Regions from separate parts of the Homo sapiens genome. Here regions 1, 3, 4, 5 and 6 are each linked to region 2. Evidence: promoter capture Hi-C in 16 types of primary human blood cells and fetal thymus (Javierre and others, 2016). All regions are on one chromosome and are shown on one strand. Each heading gives the region's core, a stretch centred on a gene start or on the middle of the fragment in contact. The rest is flanking DNA. Distances are from core to core; before and after follow the strand shown. Region 1 overlaps DOCK10 (dedicator of cytokinesis 10). Region 2 holds the start of WDFY1 (WD repeat and FYVE domain containing 1). Region 3 overlaps CUL3 (cullin 3). Region 4 overlaps LOC105373909 (a long non-coding RNA gene). Region 5 overlaps CUL3 (cullin 3). Region 6 has its middle 52 kb from the start of ACSL3-AS1.

Evidence for each region. Contacts are between HindIII fragments. The CHiCAGO score rates a contact against its expected background, and 5 or more counts as called.
Region 1: a contact is called between a fragment that was not itself captured here and the fragment with the promoter of WDFY1 in region 2, in 1 of 17 cell types (activated CD4 T cells). The highest score is 5.2, in activated CD4 T cells.
Region 3: a fragment that was not itself captured here is called in contact with the fragment with the promoter of WDFY1 in region 2 in 1 of 17 cell types (neutrophils); the score reaches 5.1 in neutrophils.
Region 4: a contact is called between a fragment that was not itself captured here and the fragment with the promoter of WDFY1 in region 2, in 3 of 17 cell types (total B cells, erythroblasts and fetal thymus). The highest score is 5.7, in total B cells.
Region 5: a contact is called between a fragment that was not itself captured here and the fragment with the promoter of WDFY1 in region 2, in 1 of 17 cell types (neutrophils). The highest score is 7.8, in neutrophils.
Region 6: a fragment that was not itself captured here is called in contact with the fragment with the promoter of WDFY1 in region 2 in 1 of 17 cell types (M0 macrophages); the score reaches 5.2 in M0 macrophages.

What each region holds. Positions count from the first base shown.
Region 1 is chr2:224,925,157-224,928,762 of GRCh38, reverse strand. All of the region lies in intron 2 of DOCK10 (dedicator of cytokinesis 10), which reads left to right. Among named protein-coding and RNA genes, the nearest start is that of MIR4439, 84 kb to the left of the region's middle. The HindIII fragment of the contact is 1,364 bases long and covers 837-2,200 here.
Region 2 is chr2:223,943,972-223,947,313 of GRCh38, reverse strand. WDFY1 (WD repeat and FYVE domain containing 1) reads left to right here and starts at 1,979. Exons shown (of 12, transcript NM_020830.5): 1 at 1,979-2,166. The coding sequence starts at 2,030. LOC124907989 (a long non-coding RNA gene) reads right to left here. Exons shown (of 2, transcript XR_007088100.1): 1 at 2,907-3,342. RefSeq lists a silencer at 2,228-2,407 and enhancers at 2,978-3,037, 3,048-3,167. The HindIII fragment of the contact is 5,306 bases long and covers 1-3,342 here.
Region 3 is chr2:224,534,831-224,538,099 of GRCh38, reverse strand. CUL3 (cullin 3) reads left to right here. Exons shown (of 16, transcript NM_003590.5): 3 at 2,459-2,572. Among named protein-coding and RNA genes, the nearest start is that of CUL3, 49 kb to the left of the region's middle. The HindIII fragment of the contact is 1,160 bases long and covers 1,359-2,518 here.
Region 4 is chr2:224,642,365-224,645,778 of GRCh38, reverse strand. All of the region lies in intron 2 of LOC105373909 (a long non-coding RNA gene), which reads right to left. Among named protein-coding and RNA genes, the nearest start is that of CUL3, 59 kb to the right of the region's middle. The HindIII fragment of the contact is 160 bases long and covers 1,573-1,732 here.
Region 5 is chr2:224,560,697-224,563,907 of GRCh38, reverse strand. The region is part of intron 1 of CUL3 (cullin 3); the gene reads left to right. Among named protein-coding and RNA genes, the nearest start is that of CUL3, 23 kb to the left of the region's middle. The HindIII fragment of the contact is 2,275 bases long and covers 783-3,057 here.
Region 6 is chr2:222,969,737-222,973,506 of GRCh38, reverse strand. No RefSeq gene overlaps it. Among named protein-coding and RNA genes, the nearest start is that of ACSL3-AS1, 52 kb to the right of the region's middle. The HindIII fragment of the contact is 755 bases long and covers 1,724-2,478 here.

The DNA of each region.
Region 1 (3,606 bases), core at 269-2,768, 980 kb before region 2:
TTTCCAATTAATCTCTGCCCAAGAGATTTTCAATGCTACCTAATCCTTACTATCAGCAAATGTCACATCCTCCAAATGGCTAAATTTTAATTTGCATTAAGCAACTGACAAACAAAAGGATAGTGTTAGATATTATCTCTACATAAAATTGCCTATTTTTGAATAATAGTGGAGATTGTTCCTCATTTTAACTGCTCTACAGAGTACAGCTTGGCAAACTGTCGCCCATGGGTGACCTGCTGCCTATTTTTTATGTCCCATGAGCTAAGAATGGTTTTTATGGTTGTTAAAATAGCTTAGGGAAAAAAAGATGATATTTCAAAACACATTAAAATTATCTGAAATTCAAATTCTGATACCCATAAAGAAAGTTTTATTGAACACGGACACCATTCCTTGACCTCTTGTCAGTGGCTGCTTTCATGATGTAAAGGCAGGGTTGCAACAGAGTTGCAGTAGAAGCAACAGAGACATTCAGCCGGAAAAGATTTATTCTTTGACGCTTTACAGAAAAAGTTGGCTGACATAGAGTACAACTGCATGCATTTTTGGTTTTTATCCTCACACTCTTTGTGGAATATAGGCGTGTCTGTAAATCTCTGATGTTACCTGCTTCACCCACAGCCTATGTCACATTTTAGGGACGTGGCGCACCAACAGGAAGTGTCCATGCAGTCAGCAAGCATGTCATTTCATCAGCTCTCCCTTCAGCAGTGGGTGAGGCTCCTCTGGGGTGTGTGGAGTCAATCTCCACGGAGTCAATGTGAAGTGGTCATAGAATGACCACCCCAATCCCAAGGCATTGAGGGATGGAAGGAGAGGGGCCGCTCCAAGCTTCCCACCCCCACCTCTAAATGTCTTTCATCCAGTTTCTGCCCTGCAGATTGGAGAATCCAGCTCACTTGTATGTTTCCACGTTACCAAGCACCCACACTTGCAGCACACATGATTCATTACTCGGTTTGTTTAATCAATATTTATTCAGCACCCACGAGCTGCTGAATATAGAACAGCACTTCCTAGACTAGTGAGACTGACAAGAAAAGCAAAAGCCCTGTGTTTAAGGAGCTCATGCCCTTTTATGGATGAAAAAGCAAGTTGATTTAGAATGCTTATGGTTAAGAAATACCGAGAATCAGAGACTTCGTCTGGTATCTGGTACACGAGAAAGATTACTTTTCACCAAGGCAGTATTCTTATATTGTGACTGTATATATTAAAAGTTTTTCTCTATTCACTCTGCTGTCCCAAGCCACAAATACCCTCATTTGCCTGGACCATACCTCCCCTCCAAGAAGTGGTTTTGTAACTGGTCCTCCTGCTTTCTTCTTTGCTCCGCTTTGATTCGTTCACACACAGTACTCAATGGAAGCTGTTAGGAACACAAATTAGATAACGCCATGCCTCTGGTTAAAACTTCTCAGTGGCTTCCCATTGCCTTAAGAGTCAAATCCAGCTCCTCCCATAACCCCTGTCATCTGGTTCCCCATGTTCTCTGAGCTCTCATCTAGCCTACTTTCCTCAGTCACTGCACAGACATCAAGCATTCTTTCTGTTCCCCCAACTTGCCAAGCTCATCCTCTCGGTAGGGCCTTTACACTCTCTGTATAGCTGGTTCCTATTTTTCAGTCACAACTCAGTTTAAATGTCACCTCTACAAAGAAGCATCCCTGACTTCCAAGCTACATTGCCCTCACACCCAGTTACTTTATAACATGACCCCACCTGCTTCTCTTGATAACACTTATCACCACTGGGAAATATCTTGGTTTGCTTTTTCACTCCTCTGTCACTTGTTTCTCACTGTTAGACAGTAGCCTCTAGCAGGACAGAGACTTCTTCTGTCTTGATTGTTGAAAGATTTTCAGCAGCTAAAGCAGAACTTGGCACAAAGCAGATGGAAAATAAATATTTATTTCATGAATTATCTTTCAGAAACATCTAGATTGCTATTTTATAACATAATGTTGATCCCTTGAGTACCTTGAGGAACCAAAAGGCTTTTCTGAAACAAAATTCTTGAGAACAAAGAGGATGAAGTAATTGGCTTTGCTTGATGGTAAGGAAAATACTTCCTGCTTTGGCACAACTCAACTCAACATATCACCTTAAAAAACAGCACTAAGAACACGTTTCCCTTTTTAAAGAGGCCCATTCCTTCTAACATAGTGCCTGGCTCATAGCTGATATCAGCAAAGCTTAGTTTCCTCCTTTTAACACTTTTTTTTAAAGAGATGGAGTCTCGCTCTGTTATCCAGGCTGGAGTGTAGTGGGAAGTCACTGCAGCCTCAAACTTGGCCTCTCAAAGTGCTGGGATTACAGGCGTGAGCCACTGCACCCAGCCCTCTAACACTTTAGTGTACTTCTTCACTTACTCATTCACTTCCTTTCTGTTACTAGACAAGGGACAAATCAGTTCATATCTGTACTTCAAGTACCCAACACAATGTCTGATTCATAGGCATTCAATAGATTATCAAACATTGAATTAAAATAGTTTTCTTCCAGGTTGAGGGCCTGACACAGAAGCACTTTCCTTTATTTTGGCACACCAGGTAGAAGCTAGTCCTCCTTGTATGTGGGTTCTGGGACTAAGCAGTATGAACTCCTGCACTACATGTGTCCTAATGATTCACTAAAATAAGCAGTATTGATGTATTTATTAAGCCATTCATTGCAAAAACTTGTACTGCTTCAATAATTGTATTTGCTACTTTTTTTCATCTTTCTTTTTCAAGCTGGTAGTAATAGAAACTTTAAAACAAAACAAAAAATAAAGAACTTAGTCACCAAAGTGTGTGACTCAGTAAAGTGGCAAAGAAAGTAAGAAAAGAAAGCAAGGGCTAAGAAAAATGGTTTCAAGGACACATTGAATCATATTGTCAAATGATTCAGTTTAAGAAAAGACTGATGCAAAATAGCAGAAAAAAAGTTGAGAAAGTCAGAAATGAGTTTCTTCCTGAGCAAAAGATGTAGAAAGCCTGAGATGGGATCATTTCTGGGAAGTACAAAACCATAAATAAGAAAGTTCTGATGTCTGAAAGCTGGTAAGACTGTACACTGTGTAGGAAGACCACCTATCAACTATACTTCAATTTTGTCCACACCAGTAAAACTCTATTTCAATTTACCTTCATGGACCACCTTTGGTGATCTAAGCTGTTTATATCCAGGACACCAATACGAATAAGAAGCAGACCTTACACTTGAACAGTTAGACTTTCAACACCGGGCAGTGCAATTTTCAAAGTCAAAAGTCTATGTCACATGACTACAGTCACCTAAGAGTCTCATTATCTTCTCAAATTCCATCTTCATATTAGTAGGTCAGAATTGTGTCCCAGGGTACTCAAAGGCATTCTGCACTTTTCACTGGCTATTAAAACTCAGAATAGTGGATATCATAATATACCAATGGCTTGTTCTTTTCATAGTATGTCTTTAGCAATGAAAAGCAAATGGTATATGGGGACTTCTAGACTCAACCACAAGGGTCATTCTAGGAAAGGAAGCAGAAAGATTTGAATATGTTTTAAACTGCAAATCAGTAAGGTCATGAGTTTTCTTTCTTTTTTTTTTTCTGAGACAAAGGTTAACATTTTATAA
Region 2 (3,342 bases), core at 730-3,229:
AGGCACTTGGGAGATGTTGGTTGATTAAACAAAGTTGTTCAGTAGCGTGTCTAGTCATTACACTGTACAGCCTCACAAAAACCATGTCTTATTAATCTCATCAGCAACAGCATATAGTAAGTGTGCGATATATGTCTGTTGAATATAGGAATAAATAAATTCATGAATGTTTGTTAATAACTTCATCATGAGAAAGTATTAGTACAATGGTGGCTCCTGCCCGTAATCCCAGCATTTTGGGAGGCTGAGGTGGGCAGATGATTTGAGGGCAGAAGTTTGAGACCAGCCTGGTCAACATGGTGAAACCCTGTCTCTAGTAAAAATACAAAATTAGCCAGGCATGGTGGTAGGTGCTTGTAATCCCAGCTACTCGGGAAGCTGAGACAGGTGAATCCCTTTAACCTGGGAGGCGGAGGTTGCCGTAAACCGAGATCGCACCACTGCACTCCAGCCTGGGTGACGGAGTGAGTTCGTCTCAAAAAACTAAAACAAAACAAAACAAAAACAAAAAGAAAGTTCTAGTAAATCACTGTACATAGAAGTACCATCTGATTCACATCCATAATTTAAAGTTTTTATTAGCTACCTTAAAAAAATAAGCAGGTCATATTAATTTTAATAGTATCTAACTCAATATATCCAAAATAGTATCATTTCAACATGTAATCATTGTAACAATTATTGATGAACTATATTACATCTTTTTTGTTTTGTGCTAAGTCTATAAAATCTTGTAGTATTTTGCACTTGTACTACATCTCAGTTTGGACAAGCCACATTTCAAGTGCTCTATAGTCATGTGGATAGTACGGTTCTAATGCAATTCTGCAATTCAGGTGTCAGAATAATATAGTGGGGCAGAAGTTTGGAGTCATTGACTTCCTGAGTCCAAATTTTGGCTCTTGAACTTACTGGTTGTCAATGACCTCTAGCCAAAAACCACCAGGAACAAATGGGGTTGATTGCTTGTTGGAGGGAGAAGACACACCATTGGGAATGGTGAGGTGTCTGGGTAAAGGGATGTTCGGACAGTTTTATTATAGGATTTGTGTTTGTGTTAGGTGACCTGGGAGAGCTTAAGGAAGAGAGGCTCTCCTGTGGACTGGATGTTGTCAGGAAATGCGTATAATTCTAAGGTTGCATATCTTAATAAATCTTATCTAAATGGAGGAAGACTAGATAGCGGTTAACATTATAATTAATAAAGAAATAAGAGTCACTCATATTAGCCAGGATAGGGGGATGTTTGGTAATTTCTGTGGCTTGTACATCGCTCATATTTTGGCCGTGTTTAGATGTGATTATGGAGTGGCCTCGTCTGATGTTTATGTTCCACAGGAAGCAAACACTTCCTAGCAACACCAAAGCTCAGCTGATAGTACCAGGCAGCTCCTGGAGATCAAGGGCTGCTTTTCTCCCTCTCATAGCTGTGCAACCTTAAGGTAGTGATCAAACTTCTCTGGTTGTTTTCTCATCTCTAAAATGGGAATACAAGAGCATCTATTTCATCTCTTAAAATTATCAGTATTAAATGAGATGCAAAGACACTGAGTTAATGCCTGGTATATGGTCACCACTCAGTGCTATCTATTGTAGTTCAAAGATTCTAAGATGCACTATATTTTTTCACATTTTAACATTTCTGAAAGTGTGTGCCTTTCAAACAATGGCTTCTTCAAATGGATGAAATGTAGTATTGTAATTTCTGAAATCTCTGGTTTGGGGGACAATTCCTTGTCCCCTCCAGGTGCTCAATTTATTCCTGGGTGAATGGCTTTACTTTTAAACCTTCCTTACTTTCCCCATTTCTCCGCAGGCGCCCCGTGGCATCCTCTCCCAGCCACAGACTTTCAGCTTGCGCGGCATCCCCAGGCAATACGGGCGGTGCGGCGGCAGCACTCGGGGGCTTACGGCGGCGCGGCGCCCAAGAGGCCCCAGCAGCCGAAGGGAAACCGGCGCGTCCCCCGCCCGCCCAGGCGTCAGCTGATGGGCTGCCTGCCGAGGAGGCCGCAGCAGTCGCCGCGCGAACATGGCGGCCGAAATCCACTCCAGGCCGCAGAGCAGCCGCCCGGTGCTGCTGAGCAAGATCGAGGGGCACCAGGACGCCGTCACGGCCGCGCTGCTCATCCCCAAGGAGGACGGCGTGATCACGGCCAGCGAGGACAGGTAGGGCCCGGGCGCAGCCGGGGCGGCCCGAACTCCGCGACGACGGGGTGTGGGGGCGGTGGGGTCCGCGGCCCCGGTCCTTCCTGCGTGAGGGGGCTCCCCCGGCAGCACGGCCCCACCCCCACTCTGCGCCCCTTAGCTCCGCCGGGTTCCCGGTTCCCTCCCGCCGGTCCTCCAGCCTCGACTTGCACCTTTCCAGCCTGGGACCCCGGTCTCGCCGCGCCCCTCCAGCCCGGATCCCCTGTCCCACCGCGCCCCTCCAGCCCGGGAACTCCGTCTCACCGCGCCGCCCAAGCCCGGGACCCTTGTTCCAACGTGTCTTTCCAGCCCAGGACCCCTGTTCCAGTGCGCCCTACCGCGCCCCTCCCAGCCCACCTCGCCCCTCCTGCTCAGGACCCCTGTTCCAATGCTCCCCAACGCGCCCCTCCAGTCCGGGACCCTTGTCCCACTGCGCCCGTCCATCCCGGGAGCTCCGTCCCACCGCGCCCCTCTAGCCCGGATCTTCTGTCCCACTGCGCCCCTCCAGCCCGGGAACTCTGTCCCACCGCGCCACTCAAGCCCGGGACCCCGGTTCCAGTGCGCCCCAACGCACCTCTCCAGCCCAGGACCTCTGTCTCACCGCGCCCCTCCAGCGCGGGAACTCTGTCTCACCGCGCTGCTCAAGCCGGGGACCCCTGTTCCAGTGCGCACCAACGCGCCCCTCCCAGCCCACCGCGCTCCTCCAACCAGGGAACCCCGACCTGCGGTGTCGCACTAGCCTGGGACCTTCGTCCCGGTCTCTCTCCCTGGCGGGGTTTAGCCTGGTACTCGGAAGGTGTTTCTTGGCCCTCCCGGGTCAGTTCCAAATCGTCTCCTCTGGAAGCGTGGAGGACCGGCGGCTGGTCACTGCGGACCCTGGTGCCCGGGGCTTGCTTCTTTGCGAGGAACTCCAGCCGCCTTCGCTCTCTTCCTCCCCCTGTACTCAGGGATTTCACGCCACGCCAGGCCTCTAGATCAGTTATTTTTGCCACGGCTGCTAGAATCACCTGAACTCTTATTTACTAAATAGGTTTTTGTGAAAGTGACTCATTTTTAAAAATATTTGGATGCATTTATTTTAAAAGGAAATCTTATTTATTAGGAAAACTAACATTACTCACCAGACAGAGTAAACTAATAACTAAAACATGTTAATTG
Region 3 (3,269 bases), core at 689-3,188, 590 kb before region 2:
TAGTAAAATTCACCGTTATTGGTCAGGATAATTTTTTGAGGTATGATGCAAACAAGGCAATTATGACACATTGTACTAGGAGATCACGTTTTATTTTGCTGAAAGGCAGGTATAAATATGATGACAAATATGTAAATACTTGATATATTTTTTTATAAAATGTACAAATCAGTGATTTGAAAGAACATGCCTTATTTTGTAACATTAACTTTTTATTTAATTGGTCAATTTTTTATTCATTCAACAAATATGCAGGCACATTTACGTGTTCCAAATTCAGGGTGATTTTAATGTAGTTAACATTTAACTTAATTTTATAATATAGCGGTATGTAGAAGTTCATATAAGTCCTTAAGAATAATTAATGGGCTTGATATTCTGATGTTTGAAATACGTATTTTTTTTGTATGTAGCGTAGATTGCTCTTGCATTGTCATGATTTTAATTTAATTGCTACTCTTCAGTAAAGGAATATGAAGCTTGGTGTAAAATTTTGAAAATAAGCACGTTTTCAGCTTGCTGGGTTTTTGTTGGGATTTGTATCTGACAAGTGCTAGATTTAATGAGTTGAAACAAATGATACATTATTCATTTTGTATAAGTATTTCCATTAACTAACTTGATATAGTTAACATTTTTGGAGGAATTTCTGGGTGATGTAACTTGAAGTCATGGAGCTTAGTCTTGTGAACAAAAGATTAAATATATGATAAAATTCTAAATTATGTGGTACAGGCCTAGTGATTTTTATACTGTATATTTAGTAGACTAGATATATTGTCTCATCATTAAATCTAATAACCTCGTTTTCCCCAATATGTAGGAAAAGATTCTGTTTTCTTAGTTTGAATTTATTCTTCCACAGTGTGTTGTGTGTATTTTCTTTGGCACTTTTAGCCACTTGTTCATATTAGATCTGATACAGAATGGCATTTTATTTATGTGTATTTATAATTGTTTTAGAGGTGTCTATATATCTCAACATACATTAAATAGTTGATGTTTCTCAGAAAGCACCATGACTTCAGCTTTTTCCCAATCTGAAAAAGCATAACCACTATTAGAAATTCTCTATGGTAAAGGATATTTGGAGATAAAAAAGTTTTGTTTAGTGTAGAGTTATTGAGAGTTTAGCTGGATTATGGAAGGTTGGTTGGATTTGAATAACTGTAGAAGTTGGCAGTATAGTCCCAAAGTGTTACAGGAACTTGGAGACAAACACACGACGACTTTGTGATAAAACAAGAACCAGAGTCTAGATTCTGTTTCTGAGTGAAATGGTCTTTCTTTTGGGCAGATAGCATAGCAGGAAAGAGTAGTGGTCAATAACATTTTATCAGAGAGGATGGTACTAAGCTTGTGGACTGTGGAAAGGAATTTTTGAAGTCTTGAATAGTCTTTTATTAGGGTTGGATTGGAAAGACATTTCAGGCTCAAGGGAACTTTATGTGCAAAAGCAGGTAATCCTGAAAGTGCTTATGTTGGAGGTGAATCATGGCATTGGAGGGCAGGGATATGAAATAAATGGTGTTATATATACCAAGCACTATTCTAGGTGTGGGATATACACATGGAAAAGATAGAAATCCTGCCACCATGGAGACATTTACATTTTAGTGGAAGAAACAATAAACAAATAAACTAATATAGTAGGTAATGATGAATGCTATGACAAAAAACAAATTGTATGGTGAAGAAGTAGAGCTAGGCTTTCTTTGAAGTAATTGGTTGGGAAAGACTTCTCCAGAGATGAAATTTGAGCAAAATAAAGTGAGTGGGACGAGCCATGTGAATTGAGGCAGAAGGAATGGCAGAGCACAGTTGCTGTATTTAGTAAAGAGGCCATTGTAGCTGAAGTGTACTGAGTAGTTTATTATAGAGTGTTTACGGAGTACTAAGCACTGTTTTAAGTGTATTGCTAGCGTTAATTCAGTTCTTAAAACAATCCTACAAGAAGAATGCTATTTCACATATAAGGAAACTGAGGCACAGAGGTTAAATATTTATCCCAGGTCACCCAGTTTGTTAGGGAGCTGGGATTGGAGCCCAGGTAATTGACTCCAAAATCAGTATTCTCAACCATTATTCAAAGTTGGGGAAGGGAAGGTGTAGTAGGAAATTCAGCAGTAGCATGAAGCCAGTCTTACAGGCCCTTGTAACTTACTATAAGAATATAGGATTTTACTCTGACAATGATGTCAAGTCACTGGAGGGTTGGGAAATACCTAGGAAGTTGATTTATGTTCTGGAGATCAGAAGAGGAGTCTGTACTATACATATACATTTGATACTCTTCTGTGTATAGGTTATAGCTTAAAATATTTCTACTAGCCTATAACATTTCTTTGATTTAAATTAAAGATTCCACTTCATTATTTTATTAAACAGATATGTGCATGCCTGTATATACGAGTGTGTGGATGTGTGTGTGCAAACTAATGAACTCTTCTGTTACTAGGTGCGAGAAGATGTACTAAATTCATTGAATAACAACTTTCTTCAAACGCTAAATCAAGCTTGGAATGATCATCAAACAGCTATGGTGATGATTAGAGACATACTAATGTACATGGTAAGTAGAGCTTTTTAAATGTTTTCTTCCTTTAAGCAGTTAAGCATTTGAAGTTGAAGGCTGGGCACGGTGGCTCACGCCTGTAATCCCAGCACTTTGGGAGGCCAAGGTGGGCATATCATTTAAGGTCAGGACATTGAGACCAGCCTGGCCAGCGTGGCAAAACCCTGTCTCTACTAAAAATACAAAAATTAGGTGCAGTGGTGGGCACCTGTAATCCCAGCTACTTGGGAGGCTGAGGCAGGAGAATCGCTTGAACCGGGGGGTGAGCCAAGATCGTGCCACTGCACTCTCACTTGGGCAACAGAGTGAAACTCCGTCTCAAAAAGAAATTAAACATTTCAAAACACAATGACTTTCTGTCTAACTTAGTTATAGTACGTCTCAGTGTGGAAGGTGGTTTTTGTTTTTTAAATGAACAGTACTTTCTTTGTAAGGGCCAACCGAAGCCTATGTGAATAAAAATCTTTATTTATTTATTTATTTATTTATTTATTTATTTATTTATTTATTTATTTATTTATTTTGAGACGGGGTCTCGCTCTGTTCCCCAGGCTGGAGTGCAGTGGCATGATCTCGGCTCACTGCAAGCTCTGCCTCCCGGGTTCACGCCATTCTCCTGCCTTAGCCTCCTGATGAGCTGGGACTACAGGTGCCCGTCACCACGCCCGGCTATTTTTATTTTTATTTTTATTTT
Region 4 (3,414 bases), core at 403-2,902, 700 kb before region 2:
ACCTTCGGTCACGGGCTTCATCTTTTCAGCATCCTTCTTGCTCCCAAGTCCAGTCTTTCTCCTGCCCCAGAGCAGCTTCTGAGGATCCACCCACCTGAGCCTGTCACTCCAGTGGTTCCTGGTGCTCTAACCATTCTCCCATGTATATTGACCTTTCTGGATCCTATTTCTGGCTGGTCTCACAAACTAATCTGCAGTAGTCTAGATCAGCATTTCTAAACTGGTGGTCTGTGGGTCAAGGCCACTCCCCTGAAACATACATTTCTTTAGCCAACAAGGTGTTTCTAAACTCTTTGGTTAAACTGCTAACATTAATAAACCCAGAAATCTCATCTATTAATAAAAATTTCAGATTTCCAGCTTCTCTGAAAGAATCTGCAAGTGATACTGCTGGTATTGAAATAGTTGGCCATAGCCTATTTTAACAGATCTGATTCTGATTGTGGACCCTTCATCGCAGAGCTTGCACCCTCATTTATTTGTGTGACCTGTCTCGCCCCTGTAGCCATCTGAGTGTGTGATCCTCTCATTTAGATCCCAGAGATTAGATTTGTGTGATAATGTTGTAATTATTTCTGGAACACAAAATCAGCAAGGATAATGGAGGATGTAATAAAATTTAACACAATAACTTTTTTTTCTTTTAGACTGAATCTCACTCGCTCTGTCACCAGACTGGAGTGTAGTGGCGCGATCTTTGCTCACTGCAACCTCCGCGTCCCGGGTTCAAGTGATTATTGTGCCTCAGCCTCCCAAGTAGCTGGGACTACAGGCGTGCGCCACCACGCCCGGGTAATTTTTGTATTTTTAGTAGAGAAGGGGTTTCATCATGTTGGCCAGGATGGTCTCGAACTCCTGACCTTGTGATCTGCCTGCCTCCGCCTCCCAAGGTGCTGGGATTACAGCTGTGAGCCACCACGCCCAGCCCCACAATAACTAACTTTTTAATGCTGTTAAAGTACTTTTCATGGACGTAATTATTTAAATAATAGACATTCATCAAGGGCCTCTTTTATCAACAGCTTTTTTTTTTTTTTGAGATGGAGTCTCGCTCTGTCACCCAAGCTGGAGTGCAGTGGCGTGTACTTGGCTCACTGCAAACTCCACCTCCTGGGTTCACACCATTCTCCTGCCTCAGCCTCCCAAGTAGCTGGGACTACAGGCGCCTGCCACCAAGCCTGGCTAAATTTTTTTTTTTTTTTTTTTGGTATTGTTAGTAGAGATGGGGTTGCACCGTGTTAGCCGGGATTGTCTTGATCTCCTGACCTCATGATCTGCCCGCCTCAGCCTCCCAAAGTGCTGGGATTACAGGCGTAAGCCACTGCGCCCGGCCTCAACAGGTATTTTTTAAGTGCTATAATCAAATACCAGTCACAGTTTAAAGCATTTCCCATAAAATATTTCATCCAATTCTCACAGCAACCATAACAAGAAGGTACCATTATTATTCTCTTATTGGGAATAAGGAAACTGAGGCACAGAGAGGGTAAGAAACTTGTTCCCATGTCCCACCACCCAAAATTCCAGATGGAAAGGAATTGAAAGGCCTGACTCCACACTCGAAGCCAAGCTTACCTGGGCTGTTTACTGCCTCTGAAATTAAGTCAATTCTCATAAAAACTCTAAGAAGCCATAATTATTACTACTCTGCCTTTCAGATGAGGGAATTAGAGCTCAGAGAATTAAGAAACTCTCCTGAAAGTACTTGTCAAAGCACTGCAGATGAGAAGCTTTTTACAGTTGACACCAGCTTCCCACAGAGTCAGCCCAAAGCCGCTAGGCTGGGGTTTCGGTACCACCAATCACCAATGGCTGCAGCATCCCTTCCCCAAAGACCCTAAACCAAAGGAGACATGCGTAGGGGTCTGCTCTGCTCTAGCCCCCAAACCTTGTTCAGGATCAGCACAGGCAGCCAGGATGGCATTTTTTGTTTGTTTGTTTTTTGAGACAGAATCTTGCTGTCGCCCAGGCTGCAGTGCAGTAGTGCCATCTTGGCTCACTGCAACCTCTGCTTCCAGGGTTCAAGTGATTCTCGTGCCTCAGCCTCCCGAGTAGCTGAGATTACAGATGTGCACCACCATGCCTGGCTAATCTTTGTATTTTTAGTAGAGATGGTGTTTCACCATGTTGGCCAGGCTGGTCTCGAACTCCTAACCTCAGGTGATCCGACAGCCTCGGCCTCCCAAAGCGCTGGAATTACTGGTGTCAGCCACCACGCCCGGCCTAGGATGGCATTTTCTATTCACCAAGCCAAGAAGTCACACCACCTGAAGGCAAGACCCATTGTCCAGGGCCCATGCCAAGCCAAATGAACTTGCCATGCCCTGGGAGGCTGCTCCTGTTCTACTGAGGTGCAGAAGAAGCAGAAGTGGGAGCCACGAGTAGAGTAGGAAAATGGGACAGTTGGAGGATAATTGAAGCAAAACTTACAAAGTAGTCCAACACATGTATCCATAAAGGAAAAATCCTAGAGGATTCAAGAAGTAATCAACCTCTCTTCTCTAATACCAACAAATCTATAGCCCAGTCTTGTTTCTCACTGATAATAGCATATACAGGACTGAGTGCATCTTGTACAATACAAGACACTGCTCCCTTTTAAAACACACAATGGAACATTAAGAGCGCCCTGGATTTCCCATCAACAAATGCTCAGCCAAAAGCCTGAAGTCATCCTTTATTCCTTCTGTTCTTTCACTCCTGTGTTTTATCCATCTGATAGATCCTATCAGCTCCTCTCCAAAATTTATCCCAAATCCATCCTCTTCTCTCCAGCTCAGCTGCTAGAAGCATTGGCCAAACCACAGTCACCTCTCACCAGGAGTATCGCATTAGCCCTCTCACTCATTCTTTTGCATGCTCCCTTGCCACCTTAACCTCTCCAGTCTCCTTTTCAAACAGCCAAATGAATACTCCCTGTAAAATATAAATCAAATCACATGGTTCCAATGTTCAAAACCCTCCTGTCACATTTACAATAAAGTTCAAATTTCTTGCCATGTCCTAGAAGACCCAATTTCCTTCTTCATCTTTACTCCACAAATGCTCTCGTTTGTCAAGCACCAGGAACCCTGACCTTCTTCCTGCTCCTCAAACCACACCAAGTTCATTTCACTTGCATACACTCTGCCTCCAACTCTGTTTTCCTGCATGTTTCTATTGCTGTTTTCTCTCTTCCCTCCTATTTCTTTTCTGATGTCTCCTCCTTAAAGGTTCATTCCCAGTCACAATTTCTAAGGTAGCCCTTCTTCATTGTCTCCCCTGCCTCATCCCTGATGACTCTGCCATCTCACACTGCCCTGTTCCTTTTTGTTTCCTTCACACTGAGAACTGTCTGAAATTCTCTAGTATACATATTTGCTTGCTGGTTTCTTGTTAGCCTTCTGCTAGAATGTAATCTCCATGAGAACACAG
Region 5 (3,211 bases), core at 671-3,170, 620 kb before region 2:
CTTTATTGCTTCTCTTTGGCATTTCTGAATTGTCAGCATCACTACTTTTGTGGTTTGGGGACAGTATTAAGTAAGATAAACATTGCCTGGACATAAGCATTGTGATTTTGATCTGATAAACCAGATGGCTGTTAAGTTACCAAGTTTTTAATGGGTGTGGGGTGTGTAACATAGTGTGGAAATGCTGGACAAAGATGTAATTCAGGATTCACATCCTGAGTGGGATGGCATGAGATTTCATCATACTACATAAAATGGCATGCAATTTAAAGTTTATGAATTGATATTTCTGGAATTTTTTATTTAATATTTTCAGGCAGTGGTTGGTTGCTAGTAACTTAAACCAAGGAAGGTGAAACTGTAGATAGGAGGACTGTTGTAGTTTATCTTCTTTAAGATATGGACAAACTTAGGAAATCTGATAGAAATTAGGGACCTACTCTCCAGAAAAGAAGTGCACACACAGTATACTTGGAAAGTTTTGTTTATTGTTTTAGGAACCTCTGGAATCCCTCTTAAGTTTTAGAACCCTGCATGTACGGATAATAGATGTAACCATGACAATGAATGAAAATACATAGAGACCCAGTAGAGAGTGACAAGAGCCAAGGACAGAGTTCTCAGGGTGAAAATGATTTAAATGGCTCTGGAAAAGTAGTATACAAGAGATGTAGGGGAATAATGTTTTCTAAAAGAAAGCTACGTTATACTGAGGTGCATTTATCATAGTGTTATTCTTAAGGTGCCTTTGTTTTAGCTCATATCTGTATATTTGCTAAGCTTGAAAAAGCTATATTTCTTTCTGACATTTATTTGATGACTGTCGATGAGCGTTCAAGAGATTCTATCATTGGGCACTTTCCTTTGTTGATGCATGAGGGATTATACTGTGCTCTGGGCTGTGTTAAATCTACTGACGTTCTCATTTAATCTTCATGACAGCCCTTTGAGATAGATGCTGTTATTGAACCCAGGACTTAATTTTCTCAAGGTCACATGGCTTGTGAGTAACAAAGCTGTGGCACAAACCTAAGGCTGTCTGACAGCAAAACCCATGTTCTCTACCAGTATACTAACTATGTTTACCAAGATAATCAGTGACTGTGATGTTACTTTACCATATTAGCACAATGGAATGTGACATTAGTCCACTGATTTGGACTAGGTTTTGGGATATATAAGTTCTAATCCCAGCTCTATGATTTTGGGTAAGTCATTTAATCTCTCTGGGTCTATTTTTCATTGTCGTCGTCTTTTTTTTTTTTTTTTTGAGACAAAGTCTTGCTCTGTTGCCTAGGCTGGAGTGGGCTGGCGCGATCTCGCCTTACTTCAGCCTCTACCTCCCGGGTTCAAGCGATTTTCCTGCCTTAGCTTCCCCTGTAGCTGGGATTACAGGCACGCACCACCACATCCGGCTATTTTTTGTATTTTTAGTAGGGATGGGGTTTCACCATGTTGGCTAGGCTGGTCTCGAACTCCCAACCTCAAGTGATCTGTCCACCTTGGCTTCCCAAAGTGGTGGGATTACAGGCGGGAGCCACTGTGCCTGGCTCTTCTTCTCATTTGTTAGAAAAATTTTTAACCTTAGCTATCACCAGAAGGAACATTTTTTCCTGCAGCCCCATCTTTTATCTATCAATAAGGCATTAATTTAAAAAGAAAAAAAAAACGCACTACATACAACCTTGTGTAGTAAAACAGCTCTTGATGTATATATGTGAAAATGGTTATGTTATAATAATGTGAGAGTACTTTTACAATGTTTGAAGCCTCTTGGTTTTATAGTTTTAAAATTCTTCAGCTTCTAGTAGAAAAATTTAGTAATTTACTCTGGGTAGAGACATTTTAATACTTTTTCTGGCTTTCAGAGGATCTTAGGTTATAGAGCCTGTAAAGATGATTTGATGTTTTGCTCAGCTATTAGCAGTATAGGTATCTTTGAGGCTTATAGTTGACATTAACTTTTCTCTTTTTTGAAATTGTTCTGAGTATTTTGCTTTATCTATTTGTTACTCAATGTCAAGAGATAGTGTCTTAGTTTGCTTTATTAGAACCTCAGCATATGTAGTCAACAAACTAAAACCACATTGCACGTACGTAGCTATGGTATTTGAGGCCATCATTATTACATGGCCTTGAATCTTCTGTTTGTGAAAAGTTAGCCGCATCAGTACATTTTATATGGATGACATCCTATCAGGATATCTGATTAAAAAGAGGTAGCAGTATAGGTGTAGGGGTAAATTCTTTTACAGTCATTTGATAAAAGTCTCTGACAGACTTAGGTCTTGGATAGGATTTCGGTAAAAGAAAAGAAATTGTTCTGTTAAAGTTCCTTCTCAAGCTCTTCAGAAAAGATCAGAATAACAAGATTCAGTTTGAGTCATTTGCTTAAGGATCGTCTTGATTGAGAGTTGAGCTGGTATTTTACTGCCAGGGTGACTAAAATAACTATTTTGCCTACTCCTTCCTCTTTTCACATTCATACACATCAGACGTGACTTGGAGAGGATTCCACTAACTCAGTAATTTTTATCCAGTTCAGATCAGAAGTTTGTGTGAAGCTGATCAATGTTGCTTAGGTTGTAAATGCAGAACTTGGAGATTTTATGTGGCATTTACAAAGGGGTCATTAGTCATATATTAGCAGAAAATCAGTCACCGAAGTATGAATCCTTGTTATGTGCCATATACTGTTTTAGAGGCTGAGGAATTTGGCAGTGAAAAAAAGATCCCTGCCTTCATGAAGCTGACATTTGGTTGTAGAGAGGGAGACCAGGAAAATAATGAAGAATGTGGGTTGGAGTTGGGGATCAGTAGTGAGGTGAGGCTGTTACTGTAAATAAGGTGGGCATTTAAAACTTCACTGTAAGATGACAGTTGAGTAGAGGTTTGAGCCATGCAGGAAACTGAGGGAAGAACATTTCAGACAGAAAGAATAGCAAATACGAAGACACTGAAATCAGCTTGTTTGATGTATGCCAGGGAGTGCATGGAGCAGAGCGAACAAAAGGAAAAAATGGATGAAGTTGAGAGATTATCAGATCGAATAAAGCTTATAGAACATTGTAAGGACTTTGACTTCAACTCCAGGGGAAATGAGAACTCATTTGAGAGTTGTGAGCAAATGAGTGACATGATTTGATTTATGCTTTTACATGGTCACCCTGGTTGCCTGATGATAGCAGGCCAGGAGTGGAGATGGAGACCA
Region 6 (3,770 bases), core at 852-3,351, 970 kb after region 2:
CCAAACATTGGCCGTGCTGACATGTAGACCTCTCCCTCCTCCTCAGCCTTTTACCTACTTGGCTTCCAGGACACCACATTCTTCGGCCATGAGTTTTCTCCGACCTCACTGGTCCACCCTCTTCAGTTACCTCTGCTGGCTCCTCCACACCTCCCCAAACTCTAAACATTGGAGCGCACTAGTGTTGGGCTTTATCTCTTGTCTACCCATTGTCACTCCAGTCTATGCCTTTAAATATCATCTTCAGACCTGCTACTCCCAGATTTATATCTGACTGGACCCTGCCCCTGAATTCTAGTTTCATAGATCTGAACATCTCCATTTGGACATCTGAAAGGCATCCCGCACTCAGCATATCCCAAACTGAGTTCCTGATCTTTCCCCCAAAAACCTGCCCTTCCAAATTATCTCAGTTAATTGCCATTCCATCTGCCCAATTGCTCAGGGAAATAACCTCAAAGTCATCCGTGACCCCTCTCTGCCTCTCAAATTTTCATTCAATCTACCATCAACTCTACTGGCTCCAAAGATATCCTAAATCTGACCACTTCTCTTCACTTCCACTGTCATTCCCTTTGGGCCTGGTCACCACCATCTCTCACCCAGACATGGCAGCTGTCTCCTAACTGGTCTTTCGGCTCCTGCCTGTAGGACCTTCTCAATGCAAGAGCCGGAGTGATCCTTACAAAATGCAAGGCAGATCATGCCACGCCTCTATTCAGAACGCTCAATGGCTTCCAGCAATTTCCAAAGTAAAGTCGAAAGTCCTTATACTGTGCTGCAAGGTCTCGTGTGATCACTCAGCTTCGAAATCTCCGGCTTTTCCCCCATTAGAATCTCTCTGACTCATATCCTGCCCTGCCCCTTCACCTGCCCCAGCAGCCACATCAGCCTCCTGGGTCCTCCATGCCTCCTCCAGGCACCTCCCGACCCCAGGACCATTGCCTTTGCTGTGCCCACTGCCTAGAATGGTCTTCCCCTAAAACTCCCGTGGCTCACACCATCAATCCTTCAGGTCTTATTGAAATGTCACTGGCTCCAAGAGGTCTCCGATGCCACGCTATTTAAAAGTGAAACCCTGCACCTCCAGTGGTCGGCTGTAATATCTTTCCCGTAGTGCTGACCACCATCTGGCACACTCGTTATTTTTCTGGTATGAGTTTTTGACAGATTCAAGCTCTCTAAAGACCGGGACTCTTCCGTATGACTGTCTCCACAGCATGCAGACGAGTGCCATCCACGGTAAATGCCCAGCGATGCACAGCTGAACCCCCCGCAGACTTCAAGATTCCCCAGGAACAGGAGGTGTCGTATCACCCACAGCAGCTTATCCAGGTCTCCTTCCACGCCTTCCTATATGACCTCCATCTCTCTTCCAGGCTAAGCCCTGCACAAGGAGCTTTTGTACACATTTGTCATTTCATTTTGTTTACTGGAACCCAATCGATTTTTAATTGAATTTACAATCAGAATCCCGAAAATGTCAAAGGTATCTTCACCGCGGTGAAAGCTTCATGCTGCTCTCCAAACCTCAATTTACCAGCAGCCTGCAGAGGCTGCAAATCACTCCAGAGGTGGTGCCTTTGGAGGACAGACTGTGAGCAGGGTTTCTGCACCATCTTGTGGACAGCTTGGGAATGACACCTACTGAAACGTCTTTTACGTCCCAGCGTGTGTGTGTGTGTGTGTGTGTGTGTGTGTGTGTACACGAGAAAGAAAAGCTTACTGATGTCTCCTCCCCACACCAAAATGAATACCTCCTCTCCTCACCAGTCCTCAATGCTAAAGGCTTCTTGGTTGTGTTTTAAGCTGGTAATTCCCTTTTTCAGTTAAAAAAAAAAAATTCCTCCTCCTGGCCCAGTAAGGAGAGAACTGAAGGCTCCTTGCGGTTTGGCTTCTCCCAGAGTGTCTTTCCCTTAGCAGCAGCATCTAGTTCACTCTCTGAATCAGGAAACTGAGCAGGTAAGATGAGTCTTCAGTATCTAAAGGGGCTGTCCTAGGAGGCATGATTTCAGCAGCACCATGTGAGGCCAGCACACCACCCCCTAGTCCGGTGGGCCCTCTGTAATATGCCTTTTATTCCACTGTCAGAACTCAGGTTTTAGATGTAAACACTCCTGGGAGAGGAGCACTAATGTCCAGTCATACCGACCCGAATGACCAACAGCCAACCTACAGGCAGGAGGTGGAGAATGAGGGCAGACAAAGGCCGCTAGTCACCTAGTGGGGAAGGCAGGTCTGGGACAAGAAAGGCCACCTGACCCTCCAAATTCCACTGCACACACCTTACAATTTCCCTCCTACTCGGCCTACCCATGCATAGTGTCAACTCACTGATTCCATCCTGTGTGTTTGGGATTGAAGAGGGGAAAATGGCCAGATCCATCTTCATTGTGAAAATTCTACACTCCAAGGGTTCGTACAGCAATTCCACTACCTCAAGACCCTCGAACTATATTAACTACAGCCACCCAAGCTTGCCTGGGGAAAGACGGTGGACAAAGAGCCATGATTTGTAACCAGCACATGGTTTGTTTGAAAGAAGCATGCACTTCTGAGGTGTGAGAAAGTTCTAGAATCATTTTAGCCAAGATCAAAGAGATTGTTTGCTTTTGTAATATGTTAAGAAAATGGAAGAAAGAGTGTGGACTCATAAGTAAATTTAAACTTTAGACCAGTATGTATGAATTAGCATCAGAAAGGGAAGGGAAGAGAGTAAAGATTGATTGAAAGCCCATTTATGGAATGCACTATCCAGCCACAAAACAAAAAATAAAGCATTATTTCCTCCCCATTCTGGATTATAATCTAGTTGTGCCTTTTTGAAAAGCCAGTCTCATCAACAGAAAGCTATCTTGATTTGAATGGCTCATTAAATAGGATAGAACAGGGGAATTCCAGCTCTAAATGGAAGGCTGTTTACAAACCTAAATTTAATAATCCTCATTAGAGGCCAGCTATGCGATCCTGAGCTAGTAGTTTAACCTCTCTGAACCTCATTTTCCTGATCTGTAAAATGGTGTGCTGATGCTGTGAAAAACAGTTGGGTGTTTCCTCAAAAAGTTAAACATAAAACTACCATACGATCCAGTAATTTCACTTCTGAATATATACTTAAGAGTGAAAGCACAAACTCCAACAGATATTAGTACACTAATGTTCATAACATCATATTCACAATAACCCAGAGGTAGAAATAACCCAAATACCAATGGACAGATTAATGAATATACAAAATGTGGGATAAACATACAATGTTTTGTTTTGTTTTGTCTTGTTTTCGAGACAGGGTCTTGCTCTGTCACCCAGGTGGGACTGCAATGGTACAATCATGGCTCACTGCAGCATCAACTTCCCGGGCTCTAGTGATCCTCCTGCCTCAGCCTCCCGAATAACTGGGACCACAGGAACACACCACTATGCCTGGCTAATTTTCAAAACTTTTTTGTAGAGATGGGATCTCTCTATGTTGCCAGGCTGATCTCAAACTCTTGGGCTCAAGTGATCCTCCTGCCTCGGCCTCCCAGAGTACTGGGAATATAGGTATGAGCCACAGCACCCAGAAAATGTATTATTTTTAGGCCTTAAAAAGGAATGAAATTCTGATGTAAGCTACAACATGAATAAACCTTCAAAGTGTGTATGCTAAACGAAATAAGCCAAACACAAAAGGACAAATATTGCATTATTCCACTGAGGTACCTAGAATAGGCAAATTAATGGAGAAGAGAAGTAGAATAGAGGCTACTAGGAGCTGTGGGGAGGGAGGA